Linked DNA regions of Homo sapiens: region 2 is linked to region 1. Evidence: promoter capture Hi-C in human tissues and cell types (Jung and others, 2019). All regions are on one chromosome and are shown on one strand. The core of a region is centred on a gene start or on the middle of the fragment in contact, and the rest is flanking DNA. Distances in the headings are between cores, read along the strand shown. Region 1 holds the start of CD52 (CD52 molecule). Region 2 overlaps GPN2 (GPN-loop GTPase 2).

What was found. The method cuts DNA at HindIII sites, captures the fragments that hold promoters and counts their contacts. A contact is called where the count stands out against the background at its distance.
Region 2: a fragment that was not itself captured here is called in contact with the fragment with the promoter of CD52 in region 1 in 1 of the 25 tissues and cell types used here (lymphoblastoid cells).

The regions. Positions count from the first base shown.
Region 1 is chr1:26,314,110-26,320,512 of GRCh38, forward strand. It overlaps CD52 (CD52 molecule), which reads left to right and starts at 3,849. Exons shown (of 2, transcript NM_001803.3): 1 at 3,849-3,962; 2 at 6,062-6,403. The coding sequence starts at 3,909. The coding sequence ends at 6,193. It also overlaps a transcript of UBXN11 not described here. RefSeq lists a silencer at 3,639-3,831 and enhancers at 3,906-3,975, 4,106-4,255, 4,629-5,614, 4,756-4,855. The HindIII fragment of the contact is 5,127 bases long and covers 2,209-6,403 here.
Region 2 is chr1:26,879,475-26,885,368 of GRCh38, forward strand. GPN2 (GPN-loop GTPase 2) reads right to left here. Exons shown (of 5, transcript NM_018066.4): 4 at 4,686-4,816; 5 at 1-275. The coding sequence ends at 203. Among named protein-coding and RNA genes, the nearest start is that of GPN2-AS1, 6.3 kb to the left of the region's middle. The HindIII fragment of the contact is 7,583 bases long and covers 505-5,894 here.

The DNA of each region.
Region 1 (6,403 bases), core at 2,599-5,098:
CTTGTCCTGCTGCTCAGAGGGCAGAAGAGGAAAATGTCTTTAAGTAAGCATAGTTATTTGAAAATTTGATTGATTATTCCATTATCTGGATCTTTTGTATAACTTTCTATTATCTGTTTCTGCTTTTTGGTCATGTTGTCTTCAATTTCTTTGAGGGTTGGGCTGTTGTTTCCTGTTTACTCTCACTCCCCGTGGTCCAACCCAAAGCCTAGGTGGGGGGAGTTTGTCAGGGCTCCCCTTTCTTAGAGAATCTAGAACTATAGTTTTTCTCCCATACATTTGTAAGTATGTGAAGATGAGAAAGCTCAGCTCAGTTTCTCAGCTGTCCCCTCTGCAAGTGGCATACTTTTAGGAGGAAAGCAGCTCCATATAAAGGGCTTGCTTCTCTCAGTCCCTTATTTCTTTTCTGCATTGGTAACTTTTCAGTACTGACTTTACTGTTGCCCCATAGTAAATATTTACTGGATGAATAAATGCAGGACTACTAGGCTCGGAGGTGGGAATAGATCTAGATGAATACACGCACTCATTCTTCCGGCAGTCCCTGACACCTACACTGTGCCATGTTCTGTGCTTCGCTGAGTAAGAGAAGTGACAAAATCTAGTCCCAACCCACAAGGGACAGACCATATTCTTGGTAGACACAATCTTTAGAACAGAGGTCAACAGAAAGGGCCCTTCGAACATTTAGGAACTTTGAGTTTCCTAGGGAAAGTGGAAAGTTTCCCTGGGGAAGGGGCTTCTAAGCTAAATCTTGAAGAATAAAGAAGAGTTTGCAGTCTGGGCAACATAGCAAAACTCCACCCTCCACCACCCCAAAAATTAGCTGGGCATGGTGGCATGCACCTGTAGTCCCAGGTACTTAGGAGGATGAGGCGGGAGGATTGCTTGAGCCCAGGAGTTCGAGGTTACAGTGAGCTATGATTGCACCACTTGTACTCCAGCCTGGGTGACAACGGCAAGAACCTGACTCGAGGGGAAAAAAAAAGAGTTTGCCAGGTAAAATAATTGGAGAAGGGCTTTCCTTGCAGAGGAAATACATGGACTGTAGAAGATACTCCTCAGGGTGTCAGGAGGTGAAAATGAAGCTTCTGAGGTTTGCAAGAAAATGTTTACAAATAAGAGTCTGGCATTTAGTATCCTCGCATGCATCTCCAGCATGGGAAACTATAACACGGCTGGCCCCAGGCTCGTCCTGTCTGGCTGCCTCTTTGTAAGAGGGGAGAAGATTGCACAGTGTGATGGAGCTCATTTTCAGCAGAGTAATCTCAGACTTCAACACGGGTATCCTGTCTTCTGGGCTGGTGCCCTTCTGGCACAGGACACCTCCCTGACTCTCATGAACCCCAGAATCACTCACCCCCACAGGCACACCAAAGACAGCTGAGAACTTGAGTCAAGGGTGAGGAGAGACCTCTGGGTGAAAGGGCAGGGATGGGGAAAGAGGGTGATGGATGGCTGGGGACTCCTCCCTCTTCTCTCCCTCCCCGCCCCTCCCTCTCCACTTCCTGGCTTTCTCTCATCAGCTTTGACTCTCAGTTCTTCTTTTCTTCTCTTCTCTTTTTTTGAAATGGAGTTTTTCTCTTGTCGCTCAGGCTGGAGTGCAATGGCACGATCTCGGCTCACTGCAACCTCCTTCTCCCGGGTTCAAGTGATTCTCCTGCCTCAGCCTCCCGAGTAGCTGGGATTACAGGCATGTGCCAGCACACCTGGCTAATTTCTGTATTTTCAGTAGAGACAGGGTTTCACCATGTTGGCCAGGCTGGTCTAGAACTCCTGACCTCAGGTGATCCACCCACCTCGGCCTCCCAAAATGCTGGGATTACAGGCGTGAGCCACTGTTTCCTGGCCTTTTTTTTTTTTTTTTTGAGACAGGGTCTTGCTCTGTCACCCTGGCTGGAGTGCAGTGCCACAATCATGGCTCATTGCAGCCTGGGCCTCCCAGGTGCAAGCAATCCTCCTGCGTCAGCCCCCAAGTAGCTGAGACTATAGGTTTGTGCCACTATGCCCGGCTAATTTTTTTTTTTTTTTTTTTTTTTTTTGAGAGATGGGGCCTTCCTATGTTGCCCGGGTGGTCTCAAACTCCTGTGCTCAAGTTATCTGCCCGCCTCAGCCTCCCAAACTGCTAGGATTACAGGCGTAGCCCCTATGCCCAGCCTCTGTTTTTTTCTTTGGACTCAGCCTCAGCCAGATCTCCCCTGGGCTTGCAACACAAGGCCCAAAACAATAGAAGAGAAGTGAGGGGAGTTTTCCCTTTACTACCTAGCATGTAAATGAGGCCTAAAGTAGACTAAGGAAGGGAGAGTGTGAAGGGAGAGTGGGCCAGAGCTGGGGTTGTGGTGACCAACTCCTGGGGCCTGGGGGGAGTTTGTGTAGGGGAGGGGGAGGGAGTGGCAGGGAATCAAGACTTAATGGATGAATTCTAGGGCAGCCCCAGAGGTTACATACATGGCTGTGGCTTCAGACAGACCTGGATTCAAGGTCAAATGAGACTGGCTCCACCATTTACGACCTTAGCAAGTCACTTAACATCTAAGCCTCAGTTTTTTCACCAGTCAAATGGGGATAAACATAACACCTGCTGCAGGGCACCACAGAGGGTATCAAGTGAGGGAATGCATAAAGCATGGAGCACTATCCAGGCAGCTGTGGGATTCCTCTCATCCCCCCACCCCTCCCTGGGCCCTCACAGCCACTCTCTCACCCCAGTCCCCTTCCACTGTAGCTTAGTCACCCACTTGTCCCTTCCCTCGCTCCCCTCCCATTCATCCTCAGCTAATACAAACAACCCATCTGCTTGCTACTTTCTCTACCAAAATCACAAAATTCTAGGTCTTGGCTGGGCGCGGTGGCTCATGCCTGTAATCCCAGCACTTTGGGAGGCCGAGGCAGGCGGATCACTTGAGATCAGGCATTCGAGACTAGCCTAGCCAACATGGTGAAACCCAGTCTCCGCTAAAAAAAAAAAAAAAATACAAAAAATTAGCCAGGCATGGTGGCACACACCTGTAGTCCCAGCTATGCGGGAGGCCAAGGCAGGATAATTGCTTGAACCCAGGAGGTGGAGGTTGCAGTAAGCCGAGATCATGCCAGTGCACAGAGCAAAACTCTGTTTAAAAAAAAAAACAAAAAAACCAACAACAACAAAACAAAACACTAGGTTTTAACAAACTTCAGAAATAATCTATTTCAGTCTTCCCAGTTCCTTGAAATGAGGAACTGAGGCCTAGAGAGGGAAAGCCCAACTGAAACCAGGCTTCCCGATTCCTCACCTCCAGCACCTTCACAGAAATCCACCAACCCTTCCACAATCTAAACATTTCCCAAGCTTTCATTCAGAACCTGCAGCCCATCTACAACCTTCCCTTGAAACATAAATCTATCCCAGCCCTTCTCCTTCAGCTCCTATACCCTGCCCCAATCTTCTTTAAACAACAAACTCATTTACGGAATATCTGCTATGTTCTGGCTCTTTTTAAATTGGTTATTATTACATGTAATCCGGCAGTTCTTTTGTTAAAGGGTCAGAGAGGTAGAGTTTCTGGCCCAGGGTCTCAGAGCTGGTCAGTGATTAAACCAGGATTCAGCCTGCAGGATGCATGATTCCAGGCCTTGGGCCCTACTTACTCCCACCGTTGCCTCTGGATTGACCTCTCTCCTATCTTGTACGATCTAGCCTGCTCCCCCAGCCAGGGCCTTAGAACCTAGAGCCTGGTATTATCCACCCCCAGATCTGCAGAAAGGAAGCCACACCCCTCCTCCACCTTGTAAGCCCTCCTTCCTCTCCCTACCTCACCCCGCCTCCTCTGCCTCCTGGTTCAAAAGCAGCTAAACCAAAAGAAGCCTCCAGACAGCCCTGAGATCACCTAAAAAGCTGCTACCAAGACAGCCACGAAGATCCTACCAAAATGAAGCGCTTCCTCTTCCTCCTACTCACCATCAGCCTCCTGGTTATGGTACAGGTAAGAGCAACGCCTGGCACCACTGCCAGGACTCCCCAAAGTTGCTTGGCATGGAGGGAGGGCATACAGGATGTGAGCTCCCAGAGACCCAGCCTTCTCTCCTGAGAGCACAGCAGATGGACTCCAACAGGAAAACTGGGGACACAGCGGGCCTGGCCGCCCAGCCTTCCAGCTCTTCTGGCTGGGGCTGCACTGCTTGCGGGCTGCCCTGAGAGAAACCTGTATCCACAGCTGGGGAGCACTTACAGGGTGCTAGGCGCGTTGGGGCACCCAAGGGGTGTTGTGGAATAATAGAGAACTAAGAGACTTGGGAAGACAACCCTGAGTGAGGAAGGCATCGGCCCACAGGGAGTCTGGGGAGATGGTCCTTTGGGGAGAGGCCAGGAGATGTCCAAGTGGAGCCTGCTGTGGTTATGGAGGTGACAGGGGACACTCTAACCCCCACTCCCCTGCCAGAGAGAAGCCTGGATGTTCAGGAATGCAAAGAAGACAGGACTCTCCCATTTCAGAAACAACTGGAGTCTCAAAAGCGACTGCTATTCCAGGAGGCAGCTTTGGTAGCATCCCAGGTGCCCAGAGGGGAGTCAGTACAGCAGACCGGAGCCATCAAGTTCTTGATCAAGAACAGCTTGATCACCATCAAAACCAGCTTAATCTCCATCAAGAACAGTTCTAGTTGCAGCTCCATCAAGCATTAAGGACAGCTCGATCACCATCTGGCCACTTCCCCACCCCACATCCAGCCACCCACGCTTTGCCAAGTGCTTTCTCACTCAGCCCTGGCTCATGTGACCTTCACAACTGTGATGAACTTCTCCCCACTCAGAAGATGAAACTGAGGCTCAGGGAAGCTAAGCCCTTTGCCAGGCTAGGAAGGTCAAGGGCCAGGGCTCCCCTGTCTCCCTCTATGCCAGAAGGGCTGGTCGCTGGGGAAAGGTGAAAAGAAAGGTTCTGTGACCGGGCACGGTGGCTCACGCCTATAATCCCAGCACTTTGGGAGGCCGAGGCAGGCGGATCACCTGAGGTCAGGAGTTCAAGACCAGCCTGGCCAACATGACAAAATCCCGTCTCTACTAAAAATACAAAAATTAGCTGGGCGAGCCGGGCGCGCTGGCTCGCGTCTGTAATCCCAGCACTTTGGGAGGCTGAGGCGGGTGGATCATGAGGTCAGGAGATCGAGACCATCCTGGCTAACACATTGAAACCTCGTCTCTACCATAAATACAAAAAGAAATTAGCCGGGCGTGGCGTGGTGGCGGGCGCCTGTAGTCCCAGCTACTCGGGAGGCTGAGGCAGGAGAATGGCGTGAACCTGGGGGTGAAGCTTGCAGTGAGCCGAGATCACGCCACTGCACTCCAGCCTGGGCGGGCGACAGAGCAAGACTCTGTCTCGGAAAAAAAAAAAAAATTAGCTGGGCGTGATAGCGGCTGCCTATAATCCCAGCTACTCGGGAGGTTGAGGGGTGGAGGTTGCAGTGACCCGAGATCATGCCACTTCACTCCAGCCTGGGCAAAAGAGCGAAACTCTATCTCAAAAAAACAGAAAGTTTCTGTGAAAGGGGGTGGACAGGGGCAGTGATCACCTCTGTCCCTGCCTGTGTCAAAGCAGGAAGCAGTCAAACATCCTGACAGGACCTTGTGGAAGAAGTAGTGGTCACATGGGGCAGAACTGAGGACTGTTTTATGGAGGTGGGCGGATGGAGGGCGGGGAGGGTAGAAAGGGGACTGCATCTTTAAATAACAAACACGCTATTCAAAAGTCCCCTGAGGGCTGGGTACGATGGCTCACACCTGTAATCCCAGTACTTTGGGAGGCCGAGGCGGGTGGATCACCAGGTCAGGAGTTCGAGACCAGCCTGACCAACATGGTGAAACCCCGTCTCTACTAAAAATAGAAAAATTAGCCGGGCGTGGTGGCACGTGCCTATAGTCCCAGCTACTCAGGAGGCTGAGGCAGGAGAATCACTTGAACCCGGGAGGTGGAGGATGCAGTGAGCCGAGATCGCATCACTGCAGTCCAGCCTGGGTGACAGAGTGAGACTCCACCTCTAAAAAAAAAAAAAAAAGTCCCCTGATCTTATCCCACTTCTCCTCCTACAGATACAAACTGGACTCTCAGGACAAAACGACACCAGCCAAACCAGCAGCCCCTCAGCATCCAGCAACATAAGCGGAGGCATTTTCCTTTTCTTCGTGGCCAATGCCATAATCCACCTCTTCTGCTTCAGTTGAGGTGACACGTCTCAGCCTTAGCCCTGTGCCCCCTGAAACAGCTGCCACCATCACTCGCAAGAGAATCCCCTCCATCTTTGGGAGGGGTTGATGCCAGACATCACCAGGTTGTAGAAGTTGACAGGCAGTGCCATGGGGGCAACAGCCAAAATAGGGGGGTAATGATGTAGGGGCCAAGCAGTGCCCAGCTGGGGGTCAATAAAGTTACCC
Region 2 (5,894 bases), core at 3,046-5,545, 570 kb after region 1:
ACCACTGACAGTATGGGGGGTGTTCTGCTTGGCACCATGTCTGGCTTTTTGGCCAGAAGTCCTTTGCAGAGCTGAATATCCCCTTGCCAGCCCGCCAGCTCTGGCTGGGAGGACTTGCTCTTGGGTCTGCAGCCTGCATCAGGAGCCTCCACTTTCCCCAGTGCTGGATTATGCATCCTGCTCTCCAGGGTCCACCTTGTTGCTACAGCTGCATGGCTTCCTGCTCCACTGACTGGTTCGAGGGTGCCAGGTACTTCTCCTGGATGCCCAGTGTGCTGAGGAAGGGTGCGTCAAGGCTGATAGCATAGGCAGAGGATGGGGAGCTGGTCTGGGCAGGATCTGACTTCCGCTGATGCCTACACTCCAACCATGTCCATCCCTCTCTTCCTCATAATTATAGGGACCAATCAGGTATGAGAAGCCTCCAAAAACACCCAGACTCAAATGCTCCTCTATCTGCCTCTTCCACACACTGCTGCGGATCAAAGGACTGGACAGTACTAACCTTGCAATTTTGCGTTATGGCACATGCTCTGGAGCCAGACTAAGGGAGTTCAAAACCTGATGATGTCTGGGTCTGGGGTCTGACGAGGACATGGAGGTTAGCCATGGCTAGGTTGGCTATGTTAGGACACCATGGCTGTTGTACTACCAGATGGCTCCAAAGTAAGAAACAGATTCTACACCCACCAAAACCAAGGTTTGAACTGTTCTTCCAAAACATCCCGGGAGAGGGACCTTGGGCCTGTCGCCTCAATTATAAAAGGGGTTGAAATGAGGATTAAATGACCCTGCAAGTAAAGCACTTAGCCCACCAAATGATGTTCGAGTTACAGACCTTTCTTTTTCTTTTTTTTGAGACAGAGTCTCACTCTGTCACCAAGCTGGAGTGCAGTGGCGCGATCTCGGCTCACCGCAACCTCCAACTCCCTGGTTCAAGCAATTCTCCTGCCTCAGCCTCCAGAGTAGCTGGGACTACAGGTACATGCCAGCACACCCAGCTAATTTTTCTATTTTTAGTAGAGACAGGGTTTCACCATGTTGACAGAAATGGTCTCGATCTCCTGACCTCGTGATCCGCCCGCCTTGGCCTCCCAAAGTGCTGGGATTACAGGCGTAAGCCACCACGCCTGGCCAAAAATAAATTTTTATACTTTAAAAAAAAAAAAGAGAGAGAGATGGGGTCTCACTATGTTACCCAGTCTGGTCTCAAACTCCTGGCCTTGAGCAATCCTCCCACCTTTAACTCCCAAAGTGTTGGAATTACAGGCATGAAGCCATTACACTTGGCCCATGCCATCTTATTTGCAACCCTTGAAACCTGTCTCAACTTTGAACCCCTATGCCTTTGCATGTTCTCTTAACTTGAATTCCCTTTTCTTCTTCATTAGACTGGCTAACCCTCACCTTGAAATGACACAACTCACGTGTCATGCCTCCATAAAGCTTTCCTTACCCACCTACCCTTCAGCAAAGCTGACCACTCCCTTATTTGTATCAGTCCCTACTCTCTTACAGAGAGCTGCTGAATCTTAAGGGGGTTAGGGTCAGGGCAGAATCTAAAATCAGCACAAATGTATATGGTTAAAAATACTCTTTAAAATTCCTCAAATTATTTGTTAAATGCAGCATACATGGTTTTGTGAATAGAATCCTTTATATATACGAATACATAAAGTAACGTACAGATGCTCCTTGACTTATGATGGGGTTACATCCTGATAAACCCATCCTAAATCAAAAATATCTTAAGTCGAAAATGCATTTAATACACATAACCTACCACACATCATAGCTTAGTTTCGCCTACCTTAAATATTCTTAGAACACTTACGTTAGCTGCATTTGGGCAAAATTATCTAACACAAAGCCTATTTTACAATAAAGTATTGAATATCTCATGTAATTTATTGAATACTGTACTGAAAGTGAAAGAATGATTGATAGGTACCCAAAGTATGATTTCTACTGAATGCATATAGCTTTCACACCATCATAAAGTTGAGCCATCATAAGTTGGGAACCATCTGTACGGTGTACAAAATACTACATTATTTAAATTGCTTCTCCCAGCCTAGGCTGTATGGTGAAACCCCATCTCTACAAAAATTAGCTGGCCACAGTGGCACACGCCCATAGTCCTAGCTATTCAGGAGGCTGAAGTGGGAGGATCACTTGAGCCCAGGGAGGTCAAGGCTGCAGTGAGCTGAGATCACGCCACTGCACTCCAGCCTGGGCAACAGAGTGAGACTCTGCCTCACAAAATAAACAAACATAAACTGCCCTTCCCAGCTGGGGACGATGGCTCATGCCTGTGATCCCAGCACTTTGGGAGGCTGAGGTGGGAGGGTAACGAGCCCAGGAGTTCAAGGTCGCAGTGAGCTATGATTGCATCACTGCACTCCAGCCTGGGCAAAGGAGCAAGACCCTGCCTCTAAGAAATAAATATAAAAGTTGCAGGCCGGGCATGGTGGCTCACGCCTATAATCCCAGCACTTTGGGAGGCCAAGGCAGGTGGATCACCTGAGTTCAGGAGTTCGAAACCAGCCTGGCCAACATGGTAAAACGCTGTCTCTACTAAAAATACAAAAAATTAGCTGAGCGTGGTGGCGGGCGCCTATTATCCCACTTACTCGGGAGGCTGAGGCAGGAGAATTGCTTGAACGTGGGAGATGGAGGTTGCAGTGAGCTGAGATTGCACCATTGCACTCCAACTGGGGCAACAAGATTGACGGTCCGTCTCAAAAAAAAAAAAAAAAAAGGGCCAGGTGTGGTGGAGCATGCCTGTAATCCCAGCTACTTAGGAGGCTGAGGGAGGAGAATCACTTGAACCCTGGAGTTGGAGATTGCATTCCAGCCTGGGCAACAACAGCAAAAGAAAGTCCATCTTAAATTTAAAAAAAAAATTGCTCCTCCCCTCTTTTGCTGAGCACATGCAGTCCAATTGGCCTACATTAACTGCAGGTGTGACGCAGCTCCTTAGTACCTTCATCAGGGACTGCACACTCTACTGCCATCATTTATAAGTCATTCCTCCAACCCCGACCCCATGAGCTTTGTTTCCCACATATGGCTCGAGAAACATCAGTAAGTGTTGGCTGGAATTATTTTCCTCTATACCCTAAGACTCCTGAGTCCCCCTTGTCTCCAGCATGCTGCATAGATGCTGAATCTGTGAGAGCATCAGCCTAGAGGGCCTGGACTTTTCTGTCCTGCTTCACGCATGGCCTCTGTGACCTGATGGACACCTACCCATGACCTTGGCTCCAGCCTCATTAGTCACTAACCAAGCTCCAAAAGTCTGGCTGCCTCTTGGACAGCTCTGGATGTCCCATGGACCCCTGAACACAGCACATCTGCCAGCTCTTGTCCCTTTCATCCATGTGACAAACCTGCTCCCTCCTCCTTTTCCTGCCTCAGTGATTAGTACAACCACCCACCGTCTAAGCCAGAGATCTGGGAAGCTAAGTTCTACTCCAGCTCCATCTATCCCATTCAGTCACTGACTCTTACAGTCTATCTCCTTAGTATTTTTCCATTCTACACCTTTCTTTCTATTCTCACTACAAATCTTTCAACCCTTCTCACCTAGCAAGACTGTAAAACTCTTTTGCCCCCAATCACGTCCCTTAAATGCATTTTCCACAATTGCAGGGGCTTTTCTAAAATGTACATCTGATTGTGTCACACCCTGTTCAACAGTACTGCTTGAATACTTGCTCCCACTGCCCACCCATGAACTGAAGTCCACATTCCTTAGTAGGGCACTCAGGCCCCTCCCTCGGCAGCCCTGCCTGTACCCCTGCAACGCCCTTTCCTCTTCACATGCAACACACCAGGAACTGGACTCCTGCATCTCTCCCGAATGACTAATGCCCTCTCATTTCTGGGCCTCTGTATTTGTTACTCCTATTGATCAATATCCTCTCTTGTCCTCAGTACAACCAACTCTGAAGCCAAGGGACCACCTTTGCACATGAGAGACAGTCATCAGGAAGCCCAACTGATCAATATGAAATCAGTCATCCACGGCCGGGCGCAGTGGCTCATGCCTGTAATCCCAGCACTTTGGGAGGCTGAGGCAGGTGGATCACCTGAGGTCAAGAGTTCCAGACCAGCCTGGCCAACATGGTGAAACCCCGTCTCTACTAAAAATATAAAAACTAACTGGGCACAGTGGCGCACACTAATACCAGCTACTTGGGAGGCTGAGGCAGGAGAATTGCTTGAATATGGGAGGCAGAGGTTACACAGAGCCAAGATTGCGCCATTGTGCGATCCAGCCTGGGCAACAAGAGCGAAACTCCCTTTCAAAAAAAAAAAAGAAAAAAGAAATTGGGTGGATCACAAGGTCAGGAGATCAAGACCATCCTGGCCAACACAGTGAAACCCCGTCTCTACTAAAAATACAAAAAATTAGCTGGGCGTGGTGGTGGGTGGCTGTAGTCCCAGCTACTCAGGAGGCTGGGGCAGGAGAGTGGCGTGAACCCGGGAGGCAGAGCTTGCAGTGAGCTGAGATCGTGCCACTGCACTCCAGCCTGGGCGACAGAGCAAGACTCCATCTCAAAAAAAAAAAAAAAAAAAGAAATTGGTCATCCACAAGGTTGATGACTGCACCTCCTGTGGCCATTCTTGAGTCCCATGTCTCACCCTCTCTGCTATGGCCAGGAAGCTGGCAAGGATACGAAGAGAAATGGAAGTCGGCTCCCATTGCGGCAGACATCATGGCTTCCAAGCTTCGCTGCTCTTGGGCTCTGAAACAGTATCCATTGGCTTTATCCACAGCCTGCAGGACTCGCTGGATGCTCTCCTTGTCCTGAGCAGGGAGGAGAGAAACAGTTCTGTGAGTGAAACAGAAGTATGTAAAACTGCTTGCAATCTCTAAATACACCTTCCTCCATCTTGCCTCTGTACCTGTAGCTTTCTTGGCCTGGAGTAGTTCTACATGTCCCCAAAGGCTGGATAAATCTCATGTTTCCTGACCACCAACTCACTCAGATTAGAACAGATAAGCTCCCCTATGCATATCCACAGTCCCCTGGGTTTACACCTATTGTACATGGTATCCCTGCCATGTAATAAACGCCTATTAACTCACCTGCCTCCCCTACTCAACTAAACACCCCTTAGGGCCAGGTCATCTGTCGCAGTATTCCCAGTGCCTGGCACAGTACTTCTCTTAAGTAGACATCCAATGAATATGCATGTTTTAAATCTATAACTGGGCCAGGCACGGTGGTTCACACCTGTAAAGCCCAGCACTTTGGGAGGCCAAGGCAGGTAGATCACTTAAGGTCAGGAGTTCAAGAGCAGCCTGGCCAACATGGTGAAACCCTGTCTCTACTGAAAATACAAAAATTAGTTGGGCATGGTGATGGATGCCTGTAATCCCAGTTACTTGGGAAGCTGAGGCAGGAGAATCGGTTGAACCCAGGAGGCAGAGGTTGCAGTGAGCCAAGATAACGCACTGCACTCCAGCCTGGGTGACAGAGTGAGACTCCGTCACAAAAAACAAAACAAAACAAAAAAAAACTATAACTGTTTCCTCATCCACATACAGTGATAAGAACAGTCCATATATCACATGGTGGGAAGGACAAAGCAAAATTATGTATGTGTAGTCCTTAGCACAGTGCCCAGCACAGAAAGCCATAAATAAGAGGTAATTGTTGTGATTGATATTATAGAGTTCATCTCCTCATATCAGAAGAGTGTGGCATTAGAAGGGAGGAGACAAGTTAGCTCAAGTCCACCCACTGCAGAAAGGAATCTAACATGCACCTGCGTCTCCCAGGTTATCTCTGCAGGGTAAAGGTGAGAGGCACAGGGGTTGGGTACCACTTTGCAAAGTCAACAGACAGTTGCCCAGTTGAAAGGGCTTAAGAGACTTGTCC